Linked DNA regions of Homo sapiens: region 1 is linked to region 2. Evidence: promoter capture Hi-C in 16 types of primary human blood cells and fetal thymus (Javierre and others, 2016). All regions are on one chromosome and are shown on one strand. The core of a region is centred on a gene start or on the middle of the fragment in contact, and the rest is flanking DNA. Distances in the headings are between cores, read along the strand shown. Region 1 overlaps PTEN (phosphatase and tensin homolog). Region 2 holds the start of ANKRD22 (ankyrin repeat domain 22).

Evidence for each region. Contacts are between HindIII fragments. The CHiCAGO score rates a contact against its expected background, and 5 or more counts as called.
Region 1: a fragment that was not itself captured here is called in contact with the fragment with the promoter of ANKRD22 in region 2 in 1 of 17 cell types (neutrophils); the score reaches 5.3 in neutrophils.

The regions. Positions count from the first base shown.
Region 1 is chr10:87,865,819-87,872,799 of GRCh38, forward strand. The region is part of intron 1 of PTEN (phosphatase and tensin homolog); the gene reads left to right. Among named protein-coding and RNA genes, the nearest start is that of PTEN, 5.7 kb to the left of the region's middle. The HindIII fragment of the contact is 2,680 bases long and covers 2,422-5,101 here.
Region 2 is chr10:88,849,451-88,856,687 of GRCh38, forward strand. It overlaps ANKRD22 (ankyrin repeat domain 22), which reads right to left and starts at 2,394. Exons shown (of 6, transcript NM_144590.3): 1 at 2,137-2,394. The coding sequence starts at 2,157. The HindIII fragment of the contact is 4,987 bases long and covers 383-5,369 here.

The DNA of each region.
Region 1 (6,981 bases), core at 2,512-5,011, 980 kb before region 2:
GGATGGGGATGGGGCCCTCTTTTTGCAGAATGGGGAAAGTATTGACAGGAATTGAGAGCTATTGGTAGGCCAGTGTATAAGGTATGTGAAAACAGAATTAAGTTATTGGTCTGAAGTGACTGAAGCATTTAGGCTCTATCAAGGCCTAAAATTTGGTAATATGAGTTTGGTAATGCGAATTGTGGCAGTGGACAATATTTAGTTAAAATTATGTAATTGCATAAGTACTAGCACAGTATTTTTAATAAAAGTTATTTCTTAGCAAATGTCAGTTGCATTTTGTCTAAAGGTAGAGTGACACTACAGTGTCTATATGTCCTGCTAAAAATTGTGGGGAATATTTTTTTTTAAGACAGCGTTTATATCGGGAGAGGTTTTATTCCGTTGGATTATGTTAGCTGCATATAAATGTGCACAGTTAATTTTGCCCAAGTTTTTGTTTTGAAATGAATGTAAAACTTACTGAAGAAGTAGCTTCCCAAAATTTAGTTTTCTGTTAAGCCAAAAATATTATTTTAAAAGAGTATTTGCAAATTTTGAAGTTGACATTAATTGAGAATGTTACTAAGGCTAAACTGGACCCGCTTGCCCAGAAGATAATTATGGAAAAATTCTTTTGTGACTTCCAAAGCAGTCTACTATTAGCATGAATTACTGACAGTCATCCAAATATATAGGAACAAAAAATTAAATGTTTATGTAACTTTGAAAAAAAAGCCTTTGAAGAAAATAATTGAATGCTGTCTGGGAGACAGATTTCTTTCAGCACTTAAAGTACATAACACACTACTTTTACTTTTCCCACTTGATTTTAAATTATCAGGGTTATTAAGACCTTAAAATTATTTTACCAGGTTTTTACATGTGAGCTGTGACATGACTGGCATTTTCTTTGATTTCAGCGTATGTTGGTCTCTACACATGAAATTTGTGTGACTTAAAACTTTCTCTAAAACTGTACTTTTAGTTATGATATGCATAGAAAGCAGTATCAAATATTGCGTCAAATGACTAATAACACTTAATTTCTAGAGTTGTGGTTTTATTGAGCCAAAAGTTGATATGAAAAAAAGTCAGTAAGGAAAGTCAGTGAAGTGCTTGCTTTTTTGATAATTGCACTCCCAATAATTTTGATATTCCAACGTACTTGGTTTGCTTGTTTTCACGTTAATGTTTTCTGTTTATTGGAGTGGGAAGGCATTAAAATTGTCATTGAAGACTTTGTCTTTGACATGTTGTAGTATTTATTTCAGTAACTAACCTGTGAAAAGTTAAATTCCTTTATGAAAGTAGTGATTGGAGTATTTTTATCTGATAAAGAAAGATTAATAATGAAGCCATTTCTCCGAGGAAAATTGAGGACAATAATTCAGTTTTAAAATATTATCGCAAAATTAAATTATTCTAAAAATTTGTTAGTAGGGTTATATGCTTAATATTAGTCTGAAATATAGTGCTGAATTTGAGACTATAGAAAAATTAAGTGTATTTAGGGTATGTGGAAACGTTAGGCTTCTGTTGTATTTTTATTGTTTGGTAGATTTGCCTCTTTTCAAATAAATGTTCACAGGGAATACTTTTAACTTGTAGAGAGTACAGTGACTATTGAAGTTACCTAAATTACCTCAAGGTAAGTGATTACTGAAATTAATCATGAGGGTTTTAAAAAGTATTCTATTCACAACATTTATTTTACATTGTTTTGTATCTGCTAAGTTATATTTCCTGAAAAACATGACTGGACCACCTAATTGCTGTATGATAACTTACAAACTTCATTTTTCATAGTGCTTATTCAAGTGTAAAGCACAACTGAAAGGAGTAATGTACAGTTTATATGAGGAAAAAGGAATTTTATTGCTGCCAGTGTAAAAGTTTGCACAGCAGTATAGTCATCAATGCAGATTTACATTGCTTATAATATACTAAGTAAATACTAAATGATTAAAGATAATAAAATATGGTGAGGTATAACCACCTTCATTTTAAACTTAGTTTTAGAAGATAGTAAAGAAAGATTCCTTTATTACCTTTTTAGAATTTTATTTTTAATAACATGGGAAAGGCAACTGGTGATATTTTAATTTTTGTATGGAACAGTGCATCTGCTTTCTCATAGCCACATAAAATACATAAACTTCTTAGTGTTATGAAATGGCTTACTTTTTGGAAGTGAAGAAGTCTTCAATTCTTATTTTCTAATGTTATTTTGAAATTTGCCTCCATTTGCTGTTTGTTCATTTGGTGATAGCGCAACACTTAAAAAAATATTTTAAGCCGCTTCTGAAGTAATCACTTCAGTGACTTTTAATGGAGGAGTATTTGTTATGGGAAATTCACTTCACAAAGTTTTAACATTAATTCACTTGAAGTAAACGTGCTATTTTTAAATTTTCATCTCAATCTTTTAAGTAAGACGAAAGCTTAGGAAATCACTTTTATTATTGATATTGTGTGTGACTTCAGAGTTTGTAAAGAGAATTGTAGAAGTGTTGCATGCATATGACAATTTTCTGCTTAATTGAAATGTGAGGCCTCTGCCATACTACAAGGATTTAGCTTCCAGAAAATGTAATATTAACATAGCTTAAGAAATGTATTTTTTTTTTTCTGTAGAAACCGTTGGGTTAAACAAACAGTTCAGAAGTTTTATTACATGGAACCCATTAGTTCTTAATCTTGTTACCTTTTTCTTCATTTTTTCTGTTAAACTTGATTTTCACAGTCAGCATTGAAGAATTCATCTTGTGGCCTGAATTCATTAAGAAAAGATGTTAGGATTTGTTCTGAAGATAGTGACTTAGGAAATTTGTGAGACTGGGGTCAGTCAGTTCTGTTTTACAATTGCTTTCTATTTGGTAGCTTTGAAATTAATTTAGTTGCTTATCAGAGAGAATAATGTTGAGGTTAGACTAACCTTAAATTGGTAAGGCTTTGCTGAGCAAACTGATAACTGTAAGTCTTTTATAGGGTGCATTACTGCCACATATACGTTCTTCCATAGGTGGTTAAAAGTATATTGGTCTGTGTTTGGTGATTCTCTTTGTACATATTGAGTATATGCATTCACTAATGTAAAATAATTTGCCAAGAAAGGTGAAATTAGTATATTGTACTTGACTATTCACCTTTCCCTTAGTTTTTTGAATTTTTTTCATTGGTTGCAGAGGAAGTATTAGCAATTTAATTCTTTTAAAATAATTTGCACTGGAATAAATAAGTATCGGCAAATATAAGAAGAGTAACATAATTTAAGGGTGAATTAATTTTATTTGGGAAGTTTTAGTTCTGTATAGTTAAGGCAGATTCTTCATTTGCAACAGTTGACATTGGGACATGTGTGAACATCTTCAAGGTATTAGGACATCTTCAAGGCATTACTTTTTGGCAGTGTTGAGAATTTTTTTTTTTTTTTTTTTTTTTTTGAGATGGAATCTCGCTCTATCGCCCAGTCTGGGGTGCAGTGGCAGGATCTCGGCTCACTGGAACCTCTGCCTCCCAGGTTCAGGCGATTCTCCTGCCTGAACCTCCCAAGCAGCTGGGATTATAGGTGCATGCCACCACGCCCAGATAGTTTTTGTACTTTTAGTAGAGATGGGGTTTTACCACCTTGGCCAGGCTGGTCTCAAACTCCAGACCTCAAGTGATCCGCCTGCCTCGGCCTCCCAAAATGCTGGGATTACAGGCGTGAGCCACTGCGCCTGGCCAGTGTTGAGAATATTGAGAGATGGATATTGTAGCTGTACCTGCCATCAAAAGAATTTTCTTGACCTCCACATAGTGTGAAAAAGAAGACTGTTTACACATTATATTTTAAGTAATTATACACATAATTATTATCAGTACTCACCACTTCAAATATGAACAGTGAATCTAACCAGTGTTTGATTTCTCTGTGTGTGTATGTGTATACAAAGTTAGCAAACCTTTTATCTTAATATTTATTAAAAAACGAATTTTTGTTTCTTTAAAGAAAAGACTACCTTAGAGAATATTGTTCTATAGTTTTTAAATATGGTCAGATCTATTTTAAATTATGTTAAAATTTTGAGTATTACGTTTATCTATACTTTTAAGCATATATACATTGTTTCATTTTAGATTTTAGGGAGGCAGTGTGGGCTCTGGAGCCAGACTGCTTGTTTTGTAATCCTGGATCTTCCATTTAGTAGCTGGATGACTTTGAGTAGGTTATTTAGATTTTCTCAATCTATTTTATCTGTAAAATGGGGATGATAATGGAACCTACCGCATACGTTTATCTTGAATAGTAAGTGAGATAATAATAAGTAATTTCATTTAGCATAGTACCTGCCACATTGTAAATACTTAAATGGTAGCTACTGCTCTGAAAAACTGTAATTTCAGGTTATGTATGTAGGGAAATTATTTGTATTTTCATTTATGGTGTATGATTGTAACTGAATTTCCTCAGTTTGGGCCATGTTAGGATTTTGTTTCAAGTTATAAGTGTTTTTAAAAATAAGGGTATTCCTTTAGGAAGTCTGGGTATGACATGTCTGTGATTTTGCTGGTTCATCACAAATGGGAAATAAATCTCTGCTAACTCAAACTGTTGACCAAAGTAAAATTAATTATGCCAATCAAAAACTATTTGCTTTAAAATATAAAAGGCAAAAACTTCCTATTAGCATAATGAAGTAGAATTTTTAAACTTTGTTATAATCTTAAATTTTCTTTAGTGTTGAAGATAGGTCAACTTAACTATCATACATTTTTATTCACATAAAGTAAACTCTGCCTCAAATGTAATAAACTTAATATGAGTTATGTAAACTTTGGTCAATAGAGGTATATTTTTTAGCATTTCCTTTTGAAAATTTCAGCCTTTTGAGGGAGTCTTGCAACTGAATGTCAAGTTACATTTATTACAATAAAATGGACACTTAATATAATCTGTAATGCATTAACATAATATGGGAACTTTTAAAGTATTCAGTCTCTGTATTATTGAGTCCTATTTCCACATTTGGCCAGGATTCTCAATATGATTTAGGCCCAAGACGTGGGAAGAAAGAAGTAAAGAACTAAAGGATTTTTTTCTTCATTTTTTTAATTGAATATGGGGAAAGATGGAATAAGCTTATCTGTCCAGTAAAGGCCATTATGTGTACATAGGGATTATTATTTTTCCCCCCCTTGGGCTGTACTGATTTCCCAGATGTACCACAGCACTCTTAGTAGTGAAGCACTTGACTTCTAGTGAGTGGATTTTTTGTGTGTGTGTTTTATATTGCAGAGTGAATACACTCTGTCTGATACTATGTGACTTTCTGATTATGTGATTTTTATGCATTTTATGTGTTTTGTAAACTAGCTGTATTTTTGGTCCATGTCTAGGTTGTAGAATTGAATTGTGCATTTTGGCATCTGAGCACAGCTGAGTTTTCTAAATCAATCTCTCTCCTTGCACCTAGTTTTTGCTTTAGATCACTACCTAAGACTTACTGTTGATTTAATATTAGAGCACTTAAGCATAGCTTTGACTTTTATTTCCTTTGATTTTTGTAGATTTTCAGGCTGAAGTACAATAAGGTTCTCTGTTCTTTACTAGTAATTGCAAAGATTGTATTCTGTGAATTTTATTTGTTTAATACTTTTGATCTTTTGAAGAGGATGTAATTATTTAAGGTATTATGAAATGCATTGTGATTTGAATTAGATACTCTTTGGAGATGGAGTTTTGCTGTTGTTGCCCAGGCTGGAGTGCAATGGTGTGATCTCGGCTCACCACAGCCTCCGCCTCCTGGGTTCAAGCAATTCTCTTGCCGCAGCCTCCCAAGTAGCTGGAATTACAGGCATGCGCCACCACGCCCGGCTAATTTTATATTTTTTTTTTCAGTAGAGATGGGGGGTTTCTCCATGTTGGTCAGGCTGGCCTCGAACTCTTGACCTCAGGTAATCTGCCTGTCTCAGCCTGCTAAAGTGCTGAGATTACAGGCATGAGCCACTGCGCCCGGCCTCAGATACTCTTTTAATTAGATGCGTTTAAAAATTTAACCCACCATTGCTGGCATGAATAGATGTATTTTTAGAGTGATTCATAAATATCGTATACATGTTTAAAGTTACAAACTTTTTGCTTATTTCAAAATGCAGGATTCTTTTCCATTTAAAATTCCCTCTCTTTGTGAGACTTCTTTTTGAGTATTCTGGTTACTCTAAACTGATTGGAGATGAAATTAGATAGAATTGAAAACTGTACTTTTAAAATGAAATTTTGGGGATGTCATTAAGCTTGATTTTTTAGGTTTTTTTTTTAGTGTGTATTATAAATTATTTTACACTGATTGTCAGCGATAAAATGGAATGCCTGGGATTTTTTAAAATTTATTTTATTCATTTTTATAAGGTAAAAACAGTGTTTTGCTAGGCTTAATTTGACCATGTTGTAAAATTTATTGTATACCTTGAAAGAATCATTTATGAAAGATACTGAATTAGCTAATATATACTCTGTCTTATGTAGTTTTTGATTAACAATACACTTTTTAAATCATTAGCTCATTTGATTTTGCAAAGAAGAACAGGTAACCTAAGAGGCAGACAGAACAGGCATTACTTTTATTTTTCTTTCTTTTTTATTTTATTTATTTATTTATTTATTTATTTTTTGCAGCTTAGGAATTGTAGCTCCAGTGGAATCAGTATCTTGTTAATGGCTAGTGAAAGACTGAGTCTGAAGAAGGATGCAGGACTTTTTTGGCACTTGGTGCAGTATTTTTCCCATTATGTTACATGAGTGGTTCTTAAACTTCAGTGTGTTAGAACAACCTGAAGGGCTTATTAAGCTATGGATTGCTTACTCCACCCTCAGAGTTTCTGATTCAGTAGGTCTGGATTGGGACCTGAGAATTTTTATTTCTTAGAAGTTTTCAAGTGATGCTGATGCTGGTGCTCTGGGGATCACACTTTGAGGACCACCAATGAACATTATCTCCCACCAAGCAAACCCTTAAC
Region 2 (7,237 bases), core at 1,144-3,643:
GTAGTTCAGCAGTGATGTAAGAAGAATCTCTTTGAATGAGTAAACACAGGACTCATCCTAGCCACCAATCTCCAGCCAATAAGCACTTTTCAACTGTGTAACTATGAGCCAGTGACTACCTTTTCCTCAGTTTCTTCATTTGTAAAATAAGGATACTAAAAGTGACTCTTACAAGATTGCTGTATTAAATGAGTTAATACATATATAAAGTGCTTAAAATAGGGCCTAATCTATAAGAAGCCCTAAATACATGTTTGTTGCTATTGTAAATATTATGAACAAATACCTTTGATAAGGGTTTAAATGAATCAGCCTTGTTTAAAAGTCCATCTTACGCAGTTGGAGTTACTTATTCAAAATTAGGGCCTCTCACTGAGCTCTAAGCTTATCCTCTAGTGCAGATTTCAGGACCAGCTCTCTGGGATCCTCCCTCATTCTCTCCTTCTTTCTTAAAAATATATATTGCATAACTATTAGCACTGCAAAGCTCTAAGGAAAAATGATAACCCTATGTCCCCAATCTAGAGGAGCTTCCCGCACTCAAATTGGGGGAAGTTTTTTTTTTTTTTTTGAATAGATTCTTCCAGGCAACATAGGACCAGGGATCCAGCAGGCTTTTTTCTTGTCCTTAATGAGTAGCTCACAATCTTTATCCTTAGGAAACACAGAGCAAATGATATATTACAAATGAGTAGGCTATGTTTAAATATTTAAGAGATTACTATTTAATTTTAAAGAGTCTCAAACTCTTTAAAACTATAGATGAAAGGTCCTACTTCCAACTTTCTACATCAGAATACCTGAGGATGAGACTAGGCTTTTTTTTTTCCTTTTTCCAAATCACATATAATTCCCACATGCAATCTGAAAAAGCAACCAAAATGCAGAATCTTAGGTCCCACCCAGGTCTACAAACTAAGAATCTGCATTTAAACAAGACCTTCAGAAGATCTGTATAGACATTAAAAACGGGAAAGCACTGGCCTGTGGCAGTCTTTCTTTCTCAGGATGGTGGTAAACAGATCACCCCTATGTCAGAACCACCTGGGATGCTCCTTTTAAAAAGTATACTTTTGTATCCTACCATAGACTGAGTGAAACAGACTCTCTGGGTTGGAGTCCCTTGAAACTGCATTTCAAACAAACTTCTCTCCCTGACACTTGGGCAGTCTAAAGTTTGAGAGTTACCAGAGTAGCATTTAAAAGCACTATATGTTTTGTCATTTTCATGTATATGATCCCTTCATGAGGCTAAAATCACTGAGCAAGACATACCTAGAGTTATAAACCAATCAAACACTGCATTTGCACACACGGAGAGATATATACACACATGGCATTAGAAATAACTGCAAATAAACTGTCTTTAATACTAGATCAAAACTATCCAAGAAGGTTCCCCTGAGCATCTGCAATGAAATGCAGATTAACCAGTTAATTGTGTCAGAGGAGAGAGAGAGTAAATTATGTATAATGACATCATTACACCTCTTGTACTCTTGTCTAAACATTCCTTGCTTGTACTTTCTTGAAACATCATTAAAAATCCATTTGATTCTAATAAGTTACTTCCAATACAAGTAAAAGTACCTCAGTATTTATCAGATGTGAAAAGAAAATAATCAAATCATCAAAATATGTTATTATTCCTCTTCTTCATAGTGATAGTCTTTACTAATATTTACTAAAGGTGAATCTCCCTTCAAATACCAAGCTGAAAGGCATTACTCTGGTCATGTGGTTCCATAAAAGAGGCAGTCAATCTTTTGGATATTTAGAAAATCCAATTGAGTACAATTTTCTCTTTTTCTCTGAGTGTTTGTCATGAGAAAAGCACAACTCAAACTCGATTTTGTCCAAATTATCCTTGCAAACATCCAGATACTATGAAATGTGTATTATATTCATCTCAACTTAGATCTAGCTAATATTTTAGAATTACAAAATACTTTGTCTTAAACTATTAAGAATATCAACAAGAATAACACATAGGACTTTATTTTTTCTGACTTAATGCTCCCCCAGGGAGTTGAACAGACAAAACAGAAATATATTAACAGGGATAGAAAATTGCATCTGAAAAGCATGAGTAACTTTTAACATCTTTGGAACTCTGCTTTCAGAAAGGTGATGTACCTCAGAGTATAGGATTCCCATGCTGGTCCTTCACAGGCTTACTTCACCTCTACAGCTCCTTGAATCTTCTGGAGGTATTTCTGATGAATATCAAAATCCTTCCTGGCTGAGAGGAAAGTCCCTAGAAGTCCAAGCTGGTGGCAAGCTCCAGGAGTGCTTTTCTAGCAAACACCTGTCAGTGCTTTTCCAGCAGCTCAGGCAGCAGCACACCTTCCAGAGAGCCCAGCCCAATGAAACAAAGGCACTGGTGTCATGTGTAACGACCCAAGCCTGTATCATCTAATGTTACAACCCTGAGGAGCCGGTTTCTGAGTCATATTTGCTCTGCCAGTGGTAACATGCAGGAAAGAAGGAAGCAAAGTTAAGGGAGGAAGAAAAGTTCTTACATTGGCAGGAAGGACTCACGGTTCAAACCAAGATACTGTATTTCAGACATTTCGTAATCAAAATCTGGTTTTCAGTGGCCATTGAGAAAGGCTAGAGACCAACAAACTTACTTGTGAGAGCCACACGTGTCTGGCAAAGAACTTGAAAAATAATCTTCAAAATTCTCAGCCTAACAAGTAACGCTTTTCCAGCTATTTATGCAGTTTTGTAAACTAATAAATTTACTAACATAATAAATCTTAAGTTGTTTTAAATATTCCAATACTATTCACACATTTAGCCAAATTACTTTATAATATTCAATTTAAAAATCATAAGTCTAAAATCAAATACTCTGTTATGCATTTTAAATTGCATCATCAATTTATTTATCAAACATGCTAGTATGCCCAATCTCTTAAATATTGTAAACATTTTATATGCTATATATGATATCATTCACACATTTTCCTTGAACTGAATACAATCACATCAAACTTTCCCAGAATTGAAACACTCGACCGTCCACACACCCATTATAACCATGGGACCAGCCCAAATGGGCCGTACTTTGTTGATAACAAATGTCAATTTACTCTGTAGATATAACAGAGCCAAAAACTGTAAGTCATTTAGCCCAGGCATGCACAATAAAAATGTTTTTGCCTCTAACAGAACCTAGAACAAATGATCCCTCCCCTGGGAACCAAGAAGACAAGGACATGACGGGAACCTAAATGCAGGACCTCTTTCAGAAGCTAGGGGCTCATTGGCCCAAAAGATCCAGGGCTGAAATCTGCCTCAACATACCTTACCTTTAGTGGTCAAATTTGAAGCCCTTCAATCAGTCCCTGCCAAACCAACATTCCTAAATCCTTTCCCTCACCCTCTAAGCCATACATTTTCTCAGATTCCAAACTGGGGAGGCAGATTTGAGCCCACCTCCTGTCTCCTTGCTGACCTGTCTTGCAATAAAGTTTTTCTTTCCTCAAAACCCAGTGTCCAGATATTGGCTTCTGTGAGCAGGGGGCAGCAAGCCTATTTGCTCAATAATATCATGGAAGAAATAGTTCAACCATCTCAAACCAATTGATGTGATTTTCCCAATCAGTTGAGGCTCCTTAGTGGCCAGAAACTAGTGACCAGGATACTAGGCCTGTGCTTATAAATATTCAGGGAAATTCTTCTTACTCCACTGGTGGATATACTGAGCTATTTTTATAATTATTTCAAAGATTTTATGTTTCACTATGCAGTTGACATCGAGGCCAGCCTCTCTGGAGTTTAAGAATTAGCTAATTCTTCCGTTGGAGGAGAGGGAAGTCTGCAATACCCACTAAAATTGCAGCTGACTTCCTCTTTGGCTTGGTTTGATTTTGTATTTCTGTAGACTCTTAAGACATTTAAGTGTCTTCCCATTGACTTAGAAAAACATTAATGGTATATCCATTGGGTACTTCACTCTGTTATGCAATATTTTGTAACCTCTGGTAGCCTCTTTTGTAACCTCTTTCAACTAATTTGTGTGGACAGAACTCTTCACTGTCATTGCTTCTCTCCTAAGGTTGCTGCTAGCTTTCTTCTTCAAGCTCTTTCCTCCCTGACTGAGCTCTAAATGTTTCTTTAACTTTCAATCAGGATCAAAACTCATTTTATTAGATTCTGCATCTCTTGACAACATCTGGTTCTAAAGGAACAGTACTCATTATAATTGCAAATGATGTAGGGTTAGCTCAAAAAACAAACCAATGAAAAAAGCAGTTGACTCATTGTTATTTGTAAAACACTTGGATTTAACTCTAGGCCATTGGGTCTCAACCAGGGGTTATCTCGCCCCCAGATAGACTGCAGATTTAGCAACGAAAAAGATAAGATGTTCAGTTAAATTTGAATTTCAGATAAATTTCTGAAATGTCATATGGGACATACATACACTAAAAAATTATGTTGCTTAATGGAGAACGTCGTTTTATTGGAAACTAAAGACATTTGGCAATGTCTGGAGACATTTTTGGTGGTCACAACTAGGAGTGGGAGCATGGTACTCTAATGTGGGGAGCAGAGGCCAGGGAAGCTGCTAATCATCCTACAGTGCACAGGACAGCCTCTCAGAGCAAAGAATTACCCAGCTCAGAAGAGTGCTAATGTAGAGAAACTCTAGTCTAAGCCAAAAGGAGAATTAAAGGTGAAGGAAGAGGACTTCGTAAACTATAGTGTCAAATTGGAATACGGAGGCATATTGTCAGAATGAAGTTGGATAAACAGATATATTTTTAAGTGTTTAGGGTTCTTCCTCTGGCAATTTTGAGCCTATAATTACAAAGACAGGTAAAGAAAAGAAGTTCCAGAAAACAGCTTTCACAGGTAAATGTCTTCTGTCAAGAAATAACACTGTCAAGAAGACAAATGTCTTCTGTCAAGAAATAAACCTAGTGTTTAATCTGAATTAAACACTAGGGACTTAAAATTAGTGGCATCCTTTGATCCTGGCTGTAAATGCAGCCAACCTCCACTGACCAGCAGCCAACTGTCTGTGAGAGATGAGTCTCTTGTAAGGTGTATCCCAAAGACTTCCCCCCAAGAGGGGTTCAGTAGAGCATAACAAAGAAGTATAGTCCACAGAAACTCAGTTTTACGCTGATATCTTAATCCTTCAACATTATCTAACATTGTCCAACATTGACATTAGCAGTGGAAGTTATCTGAGTCACACGGCACCAAAATATGTCACCAGCCAGCAGTGAATCTGTGTGGGTTTGCAGCAAACTCAATTCTTGCCTTCTCAGAAGAAAGAATTCAACTGGGGGCCATAGGATGGAAGAAGAGACCAAGGCAAGTTTTAGAGCAGGAGCGACAGTTTATTAAAAAGCTTTAGAGCAGGAATAAACAAAGTAAAGTACATTTGGAAGAGGACCAAGTGGGCAACTTGAAAGACAAGTGTGCAGTTTGACTTTTGACTCGGGGTTTTTATACGTTGGCATACTTCCAGGGTCCTGCATTCCTTCTCCCCTGATTCTGCCCTTTGGTGGGCTGTCCACATGTGCAGTGGCCCACCAGGATTTGGGAGGGGAGCATGCACAGTGTGTTTACTGGAGTTGTATGCATGCTTACTTGAAGCACTCTTCTCTTACCAGCTGAATGTCCCTAGAAGGTAATATACCAGTTAAACTCTGCCATTCTGCCTCTTAATGTGCATGCTTGAACCCACTCGCCCAACTCCTGAGATCTTATCAGGAAGCTGCTGATCACCAGTTTCAAGTTTTTTCTGTCTATTGGGAGACTGCCTTTCCCTGGCACTGGCTGTGACCAATTGTTATTTTATATATATATATATATATATATATATATATATAATTTTTTTTTTTTTGAGATGGAGTCTTGCTCTGTTGCCCAGGCTGGAGTGCAGTGGTACAATCACAGCTCATTACAACCTCCACCTCCCAGGTTCAAGCGATTCTCCTGCCTCAGCTTCCAGAGTCGCTGGGATTACAGACACCTGCCACCTGTATTTTTGTATTTTTAGTAGAGACGGGGTTTCACCATGTTGGCCAGGCTGGTCTCAAACTCCTGACCTGAGGTGATCTGCCCACCTCGACCTCCTAAAGTGCTGGAATTGCAAGCATGAGCCACCACGCCTGGCCCTCAACTATTATTTTAGAGAGACGGTTAACAACCTCCTTACTATCACCTGATGTTCACCTGACATTCCTGGTGGGTGGGGGGAGCCCTCTCCTACTCTGCTCATGTCTGACTAGCTACTTACTGTAAAATTGGCTCCCATTGGAGAGATTTGAGTAGAGGAGTGTTGTAATCAGAATTTTATTTATATAATAAAGCTCACTCTGGCTGTTGTACAGAGAGTGGATCTGAGGCAGGAAAAAAGAAACAGCAACTAGTTAGGAGGTTATTGCATTAGGTCAGCTGCATGATAATAGTTACCTGGGGCAGAAGAGCAGCAGTGTGGATAGAGAGAATAGGATAAACTCTAGAGTTTAGGAGGTAGAAATAACAGACTTTGCCAACTATGAGTTATTAAGCTATCTCCTAGCATTGAACACACTTTTCTATGTTTGGTTCTTCAATGCCTACCCTGGCATTCTGCAAGCTAGCTTTTTTTTTTTCCTACTGGTATGTGGAGACAAAATTAACTTCATCTTGGATGCTAATCCACCATGTTGACTTCTCATTAACCCCAGTCCCATAAATGCCTTCGGATTCCTACTTTATTTACTGTCCTTAGTGTAAGAACACATACTTACTGTAAATCCTGCCTTTAGACCAAAGCAAACTTGATGTTATCACACAAATATAGGTTATGATGCACACAGCACTCTTGCCTGTTCTGGGGGGTTGTCTTTAATTGTCTCTATAGAGCATGTATCCCCTTTCCTTATGATATATAAGCCCGGGGTCTGGGGTGTATTGGTGTGGAGATCTATTTGTCTTGCTACTGCAGGCCACACTTCTGTCTGTAAGTTCCCCCAATAAATTACCCTTTATCAAAAAACTGATTTTGTCTGCCTTATTATTTGGTTTCTTGGCTCCTTCCTTGTTTGGAGATTGCTTTGCATATATGACCCTTTCTTGAAACCTGGTCTATTTTCTAAGGAGCACTCCATGTGAGATTACAACGCTAAAGAGGGAGAAAGAGATCTACTCATTTCTATATGCTTGCAATCCTATCGGCCTCATCCCACCAATAGCTCTTCATCCAAGAAAAAGCAATTGATCGAGC